2 separate regions of the Homo sapiens genome follow, and region 1 is linked to region 2. Evidence: promoter capture Hi-C in 16 types of primary human blood cells and fetal thymus (Javierre and others, 2016). All regions are on one chromosome and are shown on one strand. The core of a region is centred on a gene start or on the middle of the fragment in contact, and the rest is flanking DNA. Distances in the headings are between cores, read along the strand shown. Region 1 overlaps MS4A6A (membrane spanning 4-domains A6A). Region 2 holds the start of MS4A12 (membrane spanning 4-domains A12).

What was found. Contacts are between HindIII fragments. The CHiCAGO score rates a contact against its expected background, and 5 or more counts as called.
Region 1: a contact is called between a fragment that was not itself captured here and the fragment with the promoter of MS4A12 in region 2, in 1 of 17 cell types (M0 macrophages). The highest score is 5.8, in M0 macrophages.

Annotation. Positions count from the first base shown.
Region 1 is chr11:60,169,325-60,176,210 of GRCh38, forward strand. It overlaps MS4A6A (membrane spanning 4-domains A6A), which reads right to left. Exons shown (of 6, transcript NM_022349.4): 5 at 6,078-6,287; 6 at 3,173-3,805. The coding sequence ends at 3,677. Among named protein-coding and RNA genes, the nearest start is that of LINC02705, 8.4 kb to the left of the region's middle. RefSeq lists an enhancer at 1-288. The HindIII fragment of the contact is 5,473 bases long and covers 2,754-6,886 here.
Region 2 is chr11:60,487,897-60,495,316 of GRCh38, forward strand. MS4A12 (membrane spanning 4-domains A12) reads left to right here and starts at 4,882. Exons shown (of 7, transcript NM_017716.3): 1 at 4,882-4,932. RefSeq lists enhancers at 3,128-3,867, 3,868-4,605. The HindIII fragment of the contact is 5,161 bases long and covers 2,730-7,420 here.

The sequences.
Region 1 (6,886 bases), core at 4,240-6,739, 320 kb before region 2:
TGGATTGTAGGCAGTTGGAACGTGGCTTTATTCTCTCTCCTGTCCTACAGAGTCAGCAGTGCAGTTATATTACTCACAGACAGAGTGGCTCAAAGCCAGGTATGAGCTCACACAAACAGATTATAGTAAATGGTTACATAATGCATGGGGTTGTGCACCTGCGCTCCAAACCCGCTGTGTCATACCATACCGGATGTTTACCTTGGCCTACTCCTGACTGAAGCACAGCCACTTTCCTTACAATAATAAATAACTTTTGAAAAATGCATAGTTTCCCCTCACTGATGACATGTGGAGACACTGTAAAGGACAAAGGTAGCAAGTGTGATTTCCTGTGGTCAAGTTAGATACCTCCAGTGAATTCCAGATACCTTGTTTTGCCTTTTTCTATTTCTCTTGGGAGAAAAGTTGTTCCTCGTTATCACCATAAGGTGTCAGTAGAGTCAACTGTGCAGAAATTGGGAAAGGCCAATAATTCTAAAATCTTTCTCCTGCAAAGGGAAGAGAAAACATGTTTCCTACACAGTCTGAGTCATCCTATTTAGAGCATTCTACAACTTTCTTTCTCTCTTTTTTTTCCTCTCTTTCCTTTTTTTTTGTTTTTTCAAGGTCTTGCTCTGTCCACCAAGCTAGAGTGCAGTGGCAAGATCATGGCTCAATGAGCCTCAACCTCTCAGTTTCAGGTGATTTTCCTGCCTCAGCCTCTTGAGTAGCTGGGACTACAGGCATGTGTCACCACACCTGGCTAATTTTTTTTTTTTTTTTTTATAGAGATAGGGTTTGGTCATGGTCTCCAGGCTTGTCTCAAACTCCTGAACTCAAGCAATCTGCCCGCCTCAACCGCCCAAAGTGCTGGGGTTACAGGCAAGAGCCACTGTGCCTGGCCCAGACTTTCTTGAAGAAATGAAAGATTTCATGAGTATAATCAGGTTCCAAATCCCAGCGATGTATTGGGGTTGAAGTTAATTTTAGACATAGAGGGTGGAAGTGGAAGGGGAAGGAAAGTTGGACTATGGAAGTGAAAGCAAAGGGAAGTAAACACACAATAAAACTCGAGTTCACTGAGCATCTTTCATGTGTCAGCTATATTGGTAACTGCTTTACAAAGGTTATCTCAATACATCTTCTATCTCAAGGTAGGCATCATTCTCACTTGACTTGGGCTGAAGGGGCATTGCTACTTGAAAGAAAAGATATCAGTGGATGACATGGCAGTGAGGTTGAGCCTAGGATAAAAAGTGGCTTTGAGTGTTGCCTAAAGGGCTGGATGCCTTCTCTGATAAACAAGTCAAAGCTGAAGAGAGACCCGGGGGGAACTTTGAAGACCAGAAGTTTGACTGGGTAATCAGTAAGACTTCTGGTATCCAGAGTGCTGTGGTGGTGGTGAAGACATGGTGGCAGGGGGTGAGGAACAAAGCTGGAGTGTGAGTACAGTAGATGAATACACCAATTGTGGACTCTGAGTCATAGTCCTCTCCTGTGGCAGAAGGTGGCACCATGTGATTGATATGGGGGATGTGGATTTTCAAAAGAAGGACTCTCTCTCACACATACACATACACACACACAAACACACACACACACACACCTGTTTATCCCCTACATTCTTTTAGGCAGAAGAAGGTATGCTTTATTCTGTGTTCAAATAATAGTTAGTGCCCTGTATATATCCCTAATTTCACTGTCATCTCTGTTTCTCTTATTTGACATAGTGTCTGGTATCCAATAAGCGTCAATAAAAGTTGAATGTCCACAGTAGGTAAATAAATAAAAGAAATGGTGTGTGTCAGTGGGGGGTGCAATGGACAGGGAGAAGACATAATGAACGAGAGTTTGAAGATAAAGCTAAAATCAAAGAATCTGACAGTCCAGTTTCAGCCTGGAAAAGAAAACAGCAGAAAAGCTGAGTATCAGGATATCTGATACAGTGGGTATGACCCCTGCTACAGTGGGTAAAAGCAAGGGAAACATGACCAGTTCTTTCAATGAAATGGAGCTCATGTAAAATTGAAATACTTTTCTACGTGTGTGTGTGTACACACATGCTGAAACTTAATATTTATACACAAACAATTGGTCTTTCTTGCAATAAGAAAATAAGTATGAACTGGTCGATGCTTCATAAAAAATGAGTATTCCTGGTTAGCTTTTGTTTGCTCATTAGTTTTGTTTGAATATTTGATGGGGAGAAAATGGAGTTCCAATTTGGGTTTATGTCTGTCATTGTTGACTTATTCTGTGTTTAAGGGAAAAAACAACAAAACGAGTGTTAAAACAAAATATGCACTCAAAAATTTTATTTTGAAGCCAGCTACTTTCATATACCCTGAGACTTCATTATATGGGGCTTGCCTTTATGCACTAATGAGTTAAAATACATAGGATAAAACACTAGCACCTGTATAAAAAAGTCTGAGCACCACAACAAATCAGTTAACTCCTGTTGACAATTAAGGGGTACAATAAAAAGTTGTGTCCTTTGCTTCACTGTGATCCATTGAATGATCATTCTGTCTAGTTTTCTGGGAAACATTTTCTGGGAAATGTTTCTGGGAATGATCATTCTGCCTTGTTTTCTGGAAATTCAGACTATTTGGCTAATCTAGTAAATGGTAATTTACAGCCCCGTGCTTTTGCTGAAGTCAATGTCAGGCAAATCAAGAGATCCCCAATGAACACATATCTTAAATGACAGTGAAATAATGGTTTTTTTTAATGTTCATTACTTTAAAAGCTTACATTTAGGAAACTCAAGCTTTGCTTTTCTATAATGGTTAACTTTTCCATATTATCATAAGAATCAACTTTCTGATTAATATTTCTCCCTTTTTTCTTAAGAAGTCAATAGTTCTTCATATCCACAGTCATGAGTCATTTTTGAGGACATGCCAGAATTACCAATGTAACTGTGAGGCAGGAAAAGTACACTCTAGAAGAAACAAAATATGTTAGGTCTTCAGACTTCAATCAGGTTCAAGATAGATGTATATATGCCATTTTTCCAACTGTATACATAGAATTCTTAGCTAATCCAAGATAAGTAGAGCATATCACCAGGTTCTTCAAATAATTGCAATTTATCACCCTAGTATTCATTCTACACTCTATAATACAATTTTGGATAAATCAAGGCTTTTTAATTCAGTTAAATAAAGCCATAAGTCCATAGGGGTTTGATTCAACAATACATTTTTAATATAGCTTTAAAAAGGCAAACGAATTTTAAGATCACCAGGGGCAAATGCAGAGCATAAGACATTCACTGGATCCAGTTACGTGTGTAAATGCCCTTTACCAAGTCAATACTATTAAAGAGACTAGTGGTTGTGGCAGAAATTGTTTCTGCTTATAAGGGAGGCAAGCCAGGTTCTAGTGTCCTCAGCAAAGGCACAAACTCATAGCATAATGCCAGGCCAGTCATTTAACTTCCCAGAGTCTCATTCCCTTCGCTGACAAAATAGGAAGATTGAATCAGTTGATTTCTCATGATTAACTATTTTCATATCCAGTGAATTTTCAGCTTATCAGCTACTCAATTGCCATCTGCTTTTCTTCTCTGTCTTCCATCACAATGCAAATGCCCTCCCATGTGTATCTCATGACTGACTGATTGTTCCTTCTACCACTCTTGGTGACATACTCAACACAGTGCAGGGATAAGATACACTAGGCAAGGTTAAGTGAAGCCGGCCAGCACACTCACCCCAGGGAAGTCAGAGTAAGCCTGTTTCCACCGCAGCACAGCAGTGAGCACAGCTAGGCAGAATTCCAGCAGAGTGCAAATCAGCATCAGAGAGAGAGTTCCCTGAAAGTCAAGAAATAAAAGATTGATGTTGCTTAGGTCAGCTGAAGCCTTCATGCCTAGTTGAGAGGTGACCATAGAGATGAAGACCACCTCAACCATTAGAGAATGAAGAAAGGACACCATCAGGAAGATAAAACTGCTCCTCCCACACCTCACAATTGTCTTAATTCAACCCCTTAACTCATTTCCTTGAGAGGAGAAAGGGAGATGAATAGTAATTAAATCAACTAATCTACTTCATACACTTATTTCTTACTTCTTTGAGACATCCATAGTTCTGATGACATTGTTCACTCGGTAAGAAAGCAGAGTGGCGTAATAACTCCCAGGACTGAGAATCAGCAGCTCCGTTCCAGTCTCACCTTTACTGCTTAGTAGCTGTGTAAGCCTGGACAAGTCTCTCTCTTTCTCTAGCTCCTGTTTCCTCATGTATCAAACATGCATACTAACATTTCTTTCTCAGAAATTTGTAAGGATCAAGGAGGTTTTGACTGTGCAAGTCCTTTGTAAAATTTAGTATTGACATCCCTGTCTATGTATCTGAACCCCTTTGTATTTCTTCTTGATTTTTGTTGTTGTTTCTTTGTTGTTTTTTCTTTTTTTTCTTTTTTTTGGGGGTGTAACTGTAAGGCTTAGAAAAAAACAGTGAAGGTAGTAAACTGTCAGAGTTGCTAATCACCAACACCAACTCACAAGAATGAATTCTATCATTTCTGTCCTGAGACATTCTTTGTGCAGAACTGGCCATCTGATAATAAACGGAAATAATTTGATCACATGAAACTTTGGTTTGTGGTATTTATACACAGTTAAAGAGAAGATATAACTTTTTCCATTACTGGAAATTGTTCCAGCAAGCAAACTTGACAGAATCTCTCTTATTTCCAATGTAAAATCGTCCCATCATGAATTTATACTTTATCACTACCAAATTTCTCTGAAATTTCTCTTCAGAATTTTTCCCAAGGTGGAATTGGCTGTGCCAGGTATTAATCTGTGCCAATTGCTGTCAGCCTCATTTACTTGTACTTTTTCTCATTATACCATTACCTTGGGAGCAAGGCCCTCTTTATAATGAGTGCTATACAAACATGACTTTGACCAGACCTTTCTATCTGTCCATCTTCCAGCTGAGTTCTTGGCTTATCTTGTTTTTATGATTGCAGGACAACAAATATTCTGCAATTTCTTTATTCCTTTTTTTTTTTTTTTGAGACGGAGTCTTGCTCTGTCACCCAGGCTGGAGTGCAGTGGCGTGATCTCAGCTCACTGCAACCTCCGCCACCTCCCAGGCTCAGGTAATTCTCCGCCTCAGCCTCCCAAGTAGCTGGGATTACGGCTGCCCGCCACCACACCCAGCTAGTTTTTGTACTTTTAGTAGAGATGGGGTTTCACCGTCATGGCCAGGCTCATCTTGAACACCTGACCTCGTGATCCATGCACCAGGGCCTCCCAAAATGCTTGTATTATAGGGGTGAGCCACTGACCCAGCCGTCCCTTTACTCTTATGTTGCCTGTTTTTCTCTCAATGTGTTGCTGACCATGCACATGCCCCTTAATCTTTCAACTTCAGACATATTATTTCTATTAGCCAAACTTCATTATTTTTCTTCTTCCAAAGAGATAGAATTCTCCTGCAATCATTCTCAATTACACTCTCCATCTCCCTATATTTCTTATCTCCTGATTTAATATATCACACTTCTTTCAGCTATAACAAAAAGCAACAATAATGTTGCATTCTCACCTGATCAGTATTATTCATTATTGTGATCATTAGAAGAAGAAGCCCTTATCTTCTCATCCCATATTTCCTATCCTCTTTTTCTTAGTACTGAATCTGATGTCTTCTCAAACCAAATTAACTCCTTACCATGCACACATACTGTTTCCTTGTTGGCCTATTCTGATCTCCTGGGTCTTTCTGCTCTGTTTCCATTCTTAATTCACCACTCCATGTACCAAGATTCTCATTTTGATAAACTCATAATTTATGCCTCCAAAATTGGATTAGTTTGATAATTAAGAACCTCTACAAACAGTAAGTTTTAGTTTTTCATCATCAACCTTATTTAACATTTTCAATTCCACTCTATTAGTATGTAATCCCCTTAATCTCATCCCTGTAGTCCCCTTTGATTTACATAAACCTGGCTTTCCCCCAGATGCCCAAACCAGAACCAATAGAGAGATTTTCAAAAGAAGGAATAACAAGAAATCAAGGCTTTTGAATACCTCATAAGATTAGAACATCCCATCTAAAAATACTTACAGCCAGACTGGCTTTGGCTGTATAGCAGTCCGTGGTATAAAGTGAATCATGATAAAAGTAAGAAACATAACTTCTTGTTGGTATATTATTTTTGTCCAACTCACACTGCAGTGAGGCAGGATTTAAGGTGGCCTGTTTGACAGACAGGATAATGAAACCCACCAGGGCAGACAGAGCACTCAGAATGCTTCCAACCAGGCTGCTATGCACCTGAAAGAGAAATGTTGGGTAAGGATCATTGCTAATGACTCATGAATCTGTTATGCATCTTTGCCATTAAATTGTAAGTTATTCCCTTATCTGTCCCCTCAGGAGGTCTGGGATTGATCATTTATTGCTGTATGCCTCTCCAGTGTCCAGCAAAAATCTCTCAATCTCCAGGGTAATTCTTGGCTGAATGAATGACTATACGAACTGGTTCACCTTAAGCAGGACCTCAGTGGTGTGGTAGAGAATGTTACTCTCCTAAATTCTTTCCCCAGGACAGATAGCAGGGCTTTCATGAGGCTTTACCTGCAACATTACCAAGAGAGCGTGACCCAAAGTGAAGGTGGCAACGTACCAGATGCAGTTTCTCTCTCGCTCAACTCAAAAACCCCTGGCGGAAGCATCAGCCACATGGAAAAGATAGATCATGTATTAGCATGGTGCAAAAGTAATTGTGGTTTTTGCCATAAAACCACAATTATGTTTGCACCAACCTAATAGCTCACTCTCGCCTGCCCATTGCTTCTCTCAAAAGCACACCTCTCAAAGATGAGTGAGGGGGTGGTTCTGAGTCTCAGGCAGGCCCTGGAACATGGGCAGGC
Region 2 (7,420 bases), core at 3,632-6,131:
CTCCCCCAGCCACTCCTGCTAACCAACATTTTGTTCTCTATATCTGTATATTTGAAATTTTTTAGCAAAAATGATATCAAAAGAGAAGAACCAAGTTAGAGGACTGACACTATCCAACTTCAAGACTTACAGTAAAGCTACAGTAATGAAGACAGTGTGGTATTGGTGAAAGAACAGACAAATGGATCAATAGGTGAAATCAGCCAGACACAGAAAAAAATATATCGCATTATCTCAAAATCCATTTTTTGATCAAAAGGAAAAAAATTATAGACAGGATAAATTGTTAGCAGTGACTACCGATGGACTGAATATGTACTTTGAAAATATGATATCACTTGTTTTGTTATATATAAGAATTTTAAATAAATATTCTGGGTTTCCAGCCGGGAGCTGTGGCTCACACCTGTAATCCCAGCACTTTGGGAGGCCGAGGTGGGTGGATCACTTGAGGTCAGAAGTTCGAGACCAGCCTGGCCAACATGGTGAAACCCCATCTCTACTAAAAATACAAAAAGTAACTGGGCGTGGTGGCACACACCTGTGATTCCAGCTACTCAGGAGGCTGAGGTATGAGAATCCCTTGAACCCAGGAGGCAGAGGTTGCAGTGAGCTGAGATCATGCCACTGCACTCCAGCTTAGGTGACAAAGCGAGACTCTGTCTCAAAAACACAAACAAACAAAAATTATGTGTTTCTGAAATTATTCCAAAATTTATTCTGTTCCTGTCAACATACCTCTGTGAGACTGATTTCTCTATTAGGGGTATTGTTAAAACAAAACATAGAAACAGTTTAAAAATGCATTATCCTCTGCAAGTAGCACTGCCATCAATCCGAGTTAAACAAATTAATAAGCAAGAAGCAAGTTTATTTAAATAGTGGAAATTTAAAGAGTGATGTACACAATGTTTATTCCAAGTGTGTATTATAGACTTTTAATGCAGGAAATCAGTATTTCCTTTGTAATTTTTGTTTAGCTACAGTTTTGGAAGAGCCAAAAGCTATGTGTAATAGTGATTATAATAGTTGTGGATCGTTGTCAGATTTGTAATTCTTTTCTGTTTTCCCATGTTGAGATGACATTTATTAAAACAATTTTATGCCTACAGATTCTAATGAAAACTCTGGGCTTGAATTATTGTCTATCTTATTTTCCTAGTTGTTTATTTTTATTATATTTTACAAATGTGTTGGTCCACAATAAATTGAAAATTTTAATGGAAAAAATGGCCTTTCTCCACAGACTGTAAAGCATTCAGCTTTACGAGCATGTTCCTAAGCTAGGGATACAAAAGAGATTATGAAATGGTACTATAACTCCTGCCCTTAGAAGTTAGAGCATGTTTGAAGAAATCACAAATCAGAACACAACATAGAAGAATCACACTGTTAATGGCACTAACCACATGATTACAGGAGAGAACAGTGCAGAAGTCTTACCAAGATTTGCTGCATGGAGATGGGTCTGAAAGGCCAACAGGAGAAGGAAGGGGATTCTAGGTTTAAAAGACACTATTTCTTTTTTCTTTTTTTATTTTTTATTTTATTTTATTTTTTTGAGAGGGAGTCTCGCTGTGTCACCCAGGCTGGAGTGCAGTGGCGCAATCTCGGCTCACTCCAACCTCCGCCTCCCAGGTTCAAGTGATTCTCCTGCTGCAGCCTCCCAAGTAGCTGGGATTACAGGCGTGTGCCACCACACTCAGCTAATTTTTGTATGTTAGTAGAGATGGGGTTTCACCATGTTGGCCAGGCTGCTCTCAAACTCCTGATCTCAAGTGATCCACCCACCTCAGCCTCCCAAAGTGCTGGGATTACAGGCGTGAGCCACTGTGCCCAGCCTGACATTATTTATTTTCAACTTTCTCTTCCTGCTGCCTGGATAACATGAATAAGGTTGATCATGTTATACCTTTCCAGACAGTAATCATGATTCTGTGGGCTTTCAAAAACAATGCTTACTTCATTTTCCTTTAAATACCTTCAAGCCTTTCAGCAATATTATTGCCTGAAATTGTCATTTTCTTAAGCTCATAACATTAATAAATCTTCAGCATCTTTTTTCTATTTTAGAAAAATATATAAAAATGTAAACCCACAAGAGAAAGAAAACTCTCAATAATACACAAAAAAAGAAAAAAGAATCTGCACTCATGCCACCAACTCTTTTAATGTATATTTAATGAGCCTTAACATGTGTGAGACACTGTGCCATACATGGAGTTGGAGGTGGGGATAGATATCAGCCCCTGCCCCAAGGATCTCTGGTCTCAAGGTACTCATTTGTACCTGAGATACAACCTAAAATAAATAACTGGAATGTGACAGGACACTTCCAAAAAATAAAACAGCACGCCACTATTAAGAATTACAATAAATAGGCCAGGTGCGGTGGCTCACACCTGTAATCCAGCACTTTGGGGGGCCTAGGCGGGCATATCACAAGGTCAGGAGATCGAGACCGTCCTGGCTAACATGGTGAAACCCCGTCTCTACTAAAAATACAAAATATTAGCCGGGCATGGTGGCGGGCGCCTGTAGTCCCAGCCACTCCGGAGGCTGAGGCAGGAGAATGGTGTGAACCCGGGAGGCAGAGCTTGCAGTGAGCCGAGATCGCGCCACTGCACTCCAGCCTGGGTGACAGAGCAAGACTCCATCTCAAAAAAAAAAAAAAAAAAGAACTACAATAAATATGTTTATCGACATGAAAAGATATTTATAGGACATTAAGCTTAAAAGCAGGTTATGAAGTATATATACATTATGATCCTAACTTGATTTTACTATGTAAAATACATACATGCGCACACAAAAGTTTACAAATCAAAATGCAAATACTATCATTAATTATGTCTGCGTGGTGAGATTGAGTGCTTTTTCTCTCCTTTTTTTATTATCTGCATTTTCCAATTTTGTCCACCTAATTTAAAAGGCATTAAAATGCAGTATGGCTCTCCCTCTCCCTCTCCCTGTCCCTCTCCCTGTCCCTCTCCCTCTCCCTCTCCCTCTCCCTCTCCCTCCCTCTCCCCCTCCCCATGGTCTCCCTCTCCCTCTCTTTCCACGGTTTCCCTCTGATGCCGAGCCGAAGCTGGACTGTACTGCCACCATCTCGGCTCACTGCAACCTCCCTGCCTGATTCTCCTGACTCAGCCTGCCGAGTCGCCACGCCTGACTGGTTTTCGTATTTTTTTGGTGGAGATGGGGTTTCGCTGTGTTGGCCGGTTTGGTCTCCGGCTCCTAACCGCGAGTGATCCACCAGCCTCAGCCTCCCGAGGTGCCGGGATTGTATACGGAGTCTCGTTCACTCAGTGCTCAATGTTGCCCAGGCTGGAGTGCAGTGGCGTGATCTCAGCTAGCTACAACCTCCACCTCCCAGCCGCCTGCCTTGGCCTCCCAAAGTGCCGAGATTACAGCCTCTGCCCGGCCGCCACCCCGTCTGGGAAGTGAGGAGCGTCTCTGCCTGGCCGCCCATTGTCTGGGATTTGAGGAGCCCCTCTGCCTGGCTGCCCAGTCTGGGAAGTGAGGAGCGCCTCTTCCCGGCCACCATCCCGTCCAAGAAGTGAGGAGCGTCTCTGCCCAGCCGCCCATCGTCTGAGATGTGGGGAGCGCCTCTGCCCTGCCACCCCGTCAAGGATGTGAGGAGCGCCTCTGCCCAGTGGCGACCCCGTCTGGGAGGTGAGGAGTGTCTCTGCCCGGCCGCCCAGTCTGAGAAGTGAGGAGCCCCTCCGCCCAGCAGCCGCCCTGTCTGAGAAGTGAGGAGCCCCTCCGCCCAGCAGCCGCCCCGTCTGAGAAGTGAGGAGCGTCTCCGCCTGGCAGCCACCCCGTCCAGGAGGAAGGTGGGGGGCCAGTCCCCGCCCAGCGAGCCGCCCCGTCCGGGAGGGAGGTGGGGGGGTCAGCCCCCGCCCGGCCAGCCGCCCCCTCCGGGAGGGAGGTGGGGGGCGCCTCCGCCCAGCCGCCCCTTCTGGGAAGTGAGGAGCCCCTCTGCCTGGCCATCACCCCGTCTGGGAGGTGTACCCAACAGCTCATTGAGAACGGGCCATGATGACGATGGCGGTTTTGTGGAATAGAAAAGGGGGAAAGGTGGGGAAAAGATAGAGAAATCAGATTGTTGCTGTGTCTGTGTAGAAAGAAGTAGACATGGGAGATTTCATTTTGTTCTGTACTAAGAAAAATTCTTCTGCCTTGGGATGCTGTTGATCTATGACCTTACCCCCAACCCTGTGCTCTCTGAAACATGTGCTGTGTCCACTCAGGGTTCAATGGATTAAGGGCGGTGCAAGATGTGCTTTGTTAAACAGATGCTTGAAGGCAGCATGCTCGTTAAGAGTCATCACCACTCCCTAATCTCAAGTACCCAGGGACAAAAACACTGCGGAAGGCCGCAGGGTCCTCTGCCTAGGAAAGCCAGAGACCTTTGTTCACTTGTTTATCTGCTGACCTTCCCTTCACTATTGTCCTATGACCCTGCCAAATCCCCCTCTGTGAGAAACACCCAAGAATGATCAATAAAAAAAAAAAAGAGACTATAAACATAATTTGAGTGTTTAGAAATTTAAAAATAAAATCCCAGTAAAAAAAATAAATAAATAAAAATAAAAATAAAAAAATGCAGTATGATATTGCAATGATTGAGCATTAGAAAGCTGGAGAAAATAAATACTAAAGTGTTTGGGAGGGTCACAATAGGCTTCCCAGTAAAAATTAGAGGAGGATGTGAAAGCACAGCGTATTCCAAACTTTACAGTTGCATTTACATCTCTTGAGGTGAAAGAGAAATAACCATAAAAGGACTCTGGAACTACATAAAGATACAAGACAAATTGGTTTGGAGAACGGAAATAAAATCTACCTATAAAATCCAGGTAAATATCTGATACTGGCACACAGGTTGGAGCAGAGAAAGAGGAAACATAGAGGTGCCAAAGGAACAAAGTAAGTCCATTGATACGTTCTTGCCTATCTCTCCTCCAAATCAATGGGCACAAACTGTGGCTGGTCTACCTGTGTGGGTTCTGTTCTCTAGATTGGAGGGATGAAGACAAGTTCTTGACTCTATGTTGAGGCCAGTTGAAAAATGAGGGAGAATAAAACCATGAACGAAACAAGAAAGAAACAAAACAGAAGAGGAATGAAAAAGTAAGTTGGTTGCTGTACAAGAGATAAAACGGACTGCAAAAAGAAAAAAAAAGCTAATGCTCGCTGGGTGCGGTGGCTCACACCTGTAAACCCAGCTCTTTGGGAGGCCGAGGCAGGAGAATCACCTGAGGTCAGGAGTTCGAGACCAGCCTGCCTAACATGGTGAAACCCCATCTCCACTAAAAATACAAAAATTAGCTGGGCGTAGTGGCAGGTGCCTGTAATCCCAGCTACTCGGGGGGCTGAGGCAGGAGAATCACGTGAACTCGGGAGGCGGAGGTTGCAGTGAGCCGAGATCGCTCCATTGCACTCCAGCCTGGGTGACAAGAGTGAAACTCCATCTTAAAAAAAAAAAAAAAAAAAGCTAATGCTAAGAAAGGTGAATAATAGGTTCAACTGTATGCCATTCCATGAACATGGGCCCAAAAGGACGAGGCCATGCCCCACTGGGCACTTGATGATTATGTGGCTACCACAGGGACAACATAGAACACAGAAGTAATACTGGAGCCCTTGGCTTTGTAACACATTTTAATTAAGGTACTTCTTTCTGACAAGAAAACAATTAAAATTAAAATAGGTAGGGAAAGAACATTCATTTTCACCAGATCAGCATTTTGTGAAAGGTGATATAAGTGTATACCTGTGGATGTACTGGGTGATTTTGTGAAAATGATTCGGTTTCATGTTTTGCTTTATGCTATAAAGTACTCTTGAAAATAATAATCATCTTCACTCTGTCAAAAGTGAAGTTAGCATGAAAATGAGGTAGAAAGAAACTATAAAGAAGTAAATTTTTCCCATTTTTATTTGAAATAATGTAATCACAGAGCAAATTGCTGAGGTTTTCTCTAATTGCTTTAGTCTTATACTTTTGATCTCATCAGAGCTCCAATATTTTTATGTGTTCCTTGTTCTTAAAAATAATTGCAGTTGTTCTAATTCTTATTTTTAAAAAAAGGACAACTAGGGGTAAATATTTTGTCAACTGTCAAGAGAACAATCCTACTAAGTCAATAGGTGGAATCTATAAAAGGAGTCTATTTATTAGTTTCCCTTCTCATGTATCATTTACAGAATTGTCTTCATTTCAATTGAATAATTAAAGAATCAGAACTGGCTGGCTCTGTCTTTAATTCCTTTTATAAAACCAGAACTTGACCCAGTAAAAATGTATTCTGAGTCCTAATAACTATAGACCTAGCCATGAATAATCTGGGTTCTATGTGAAATTTACAGATCTTAGTCCAGAAACTAAACAGCAGATATGAAAGGAGAAACTGTTGATAAATAAATGAAAAGTATTGAGTTTTCCTCATAAAATTTCTCGAGACAAAAAAAAAGCAATGATCAACAGCAAAGGAGAATGTAATGAAATCATATACATGCAGAAACGTGGACAATTCTTTAATTGTATGCTTTTTAAAAGCTCAAAAAAATTCTTGTTCTGGTTAATTACTGTACTCTGAGTACCCATCTCCTATTTCTTTGCTCTTGAAATTGACCCTGTTCAATTCCTTTTATAAACTTTTCCTATGGCCACATCCACTGCCTAAAACAAGATAGAATACCTTGGGATCTAATAATAAAATAATAGTTCCTTTTTAAGCTCTTGCCATGTGCTAGGCACTGTTCCAACAGTTTTGCATAAATTAGGATAATTTGAACTTTAGACTAGCCTCCTTAGGTACCTTCTGTCATTTTACAGTTGAGACATAGGAACTAACAGGGATTTCATTAAGAAACTTGCTTAAAGTCCCAGACTTAGTGAAGTAGCAGATTGAAGATTAGAAAAGAGGGCTTGAGCAATATTTGGCCACCGAAACCAGATCCATAGGATGTATAACCTCACATTCTCAAATGCTATTGAGAGTTACGTGGTGTTACTCCAAGAGTCACAGCTATGGACTTGTTTCCTTTTTCCTTGTTTAAAATAAACTTTTGTGGGCTCAAATGTGTTTACATTTTTTTTTTTTTTGAGATGGAGTCTCGCTCTGTCACCCAGGTTGGAGTGCAGTGGCACGATCTCGGCTCACTGCAAGCTCCACCTCCCGGGTTCACACCATTCTCCTGCCTCAGCCTCCCATGTAGCTGGGACTACAGGCGACCACCACTACACCCGGCTAATTTTTTTTTTTTTTTTGTATTTTTAGTAGAGACGGGGTTTCACCATGTTAGCCAGGATGGTCTCGATCTCCTGACCTCGGGATCTGCCCGCCTCGGCCTCCTAAAGTGCTGGATGTGTTTCCATTTTGAAAAAAAAAATTCCTCTGTAATCAGATAT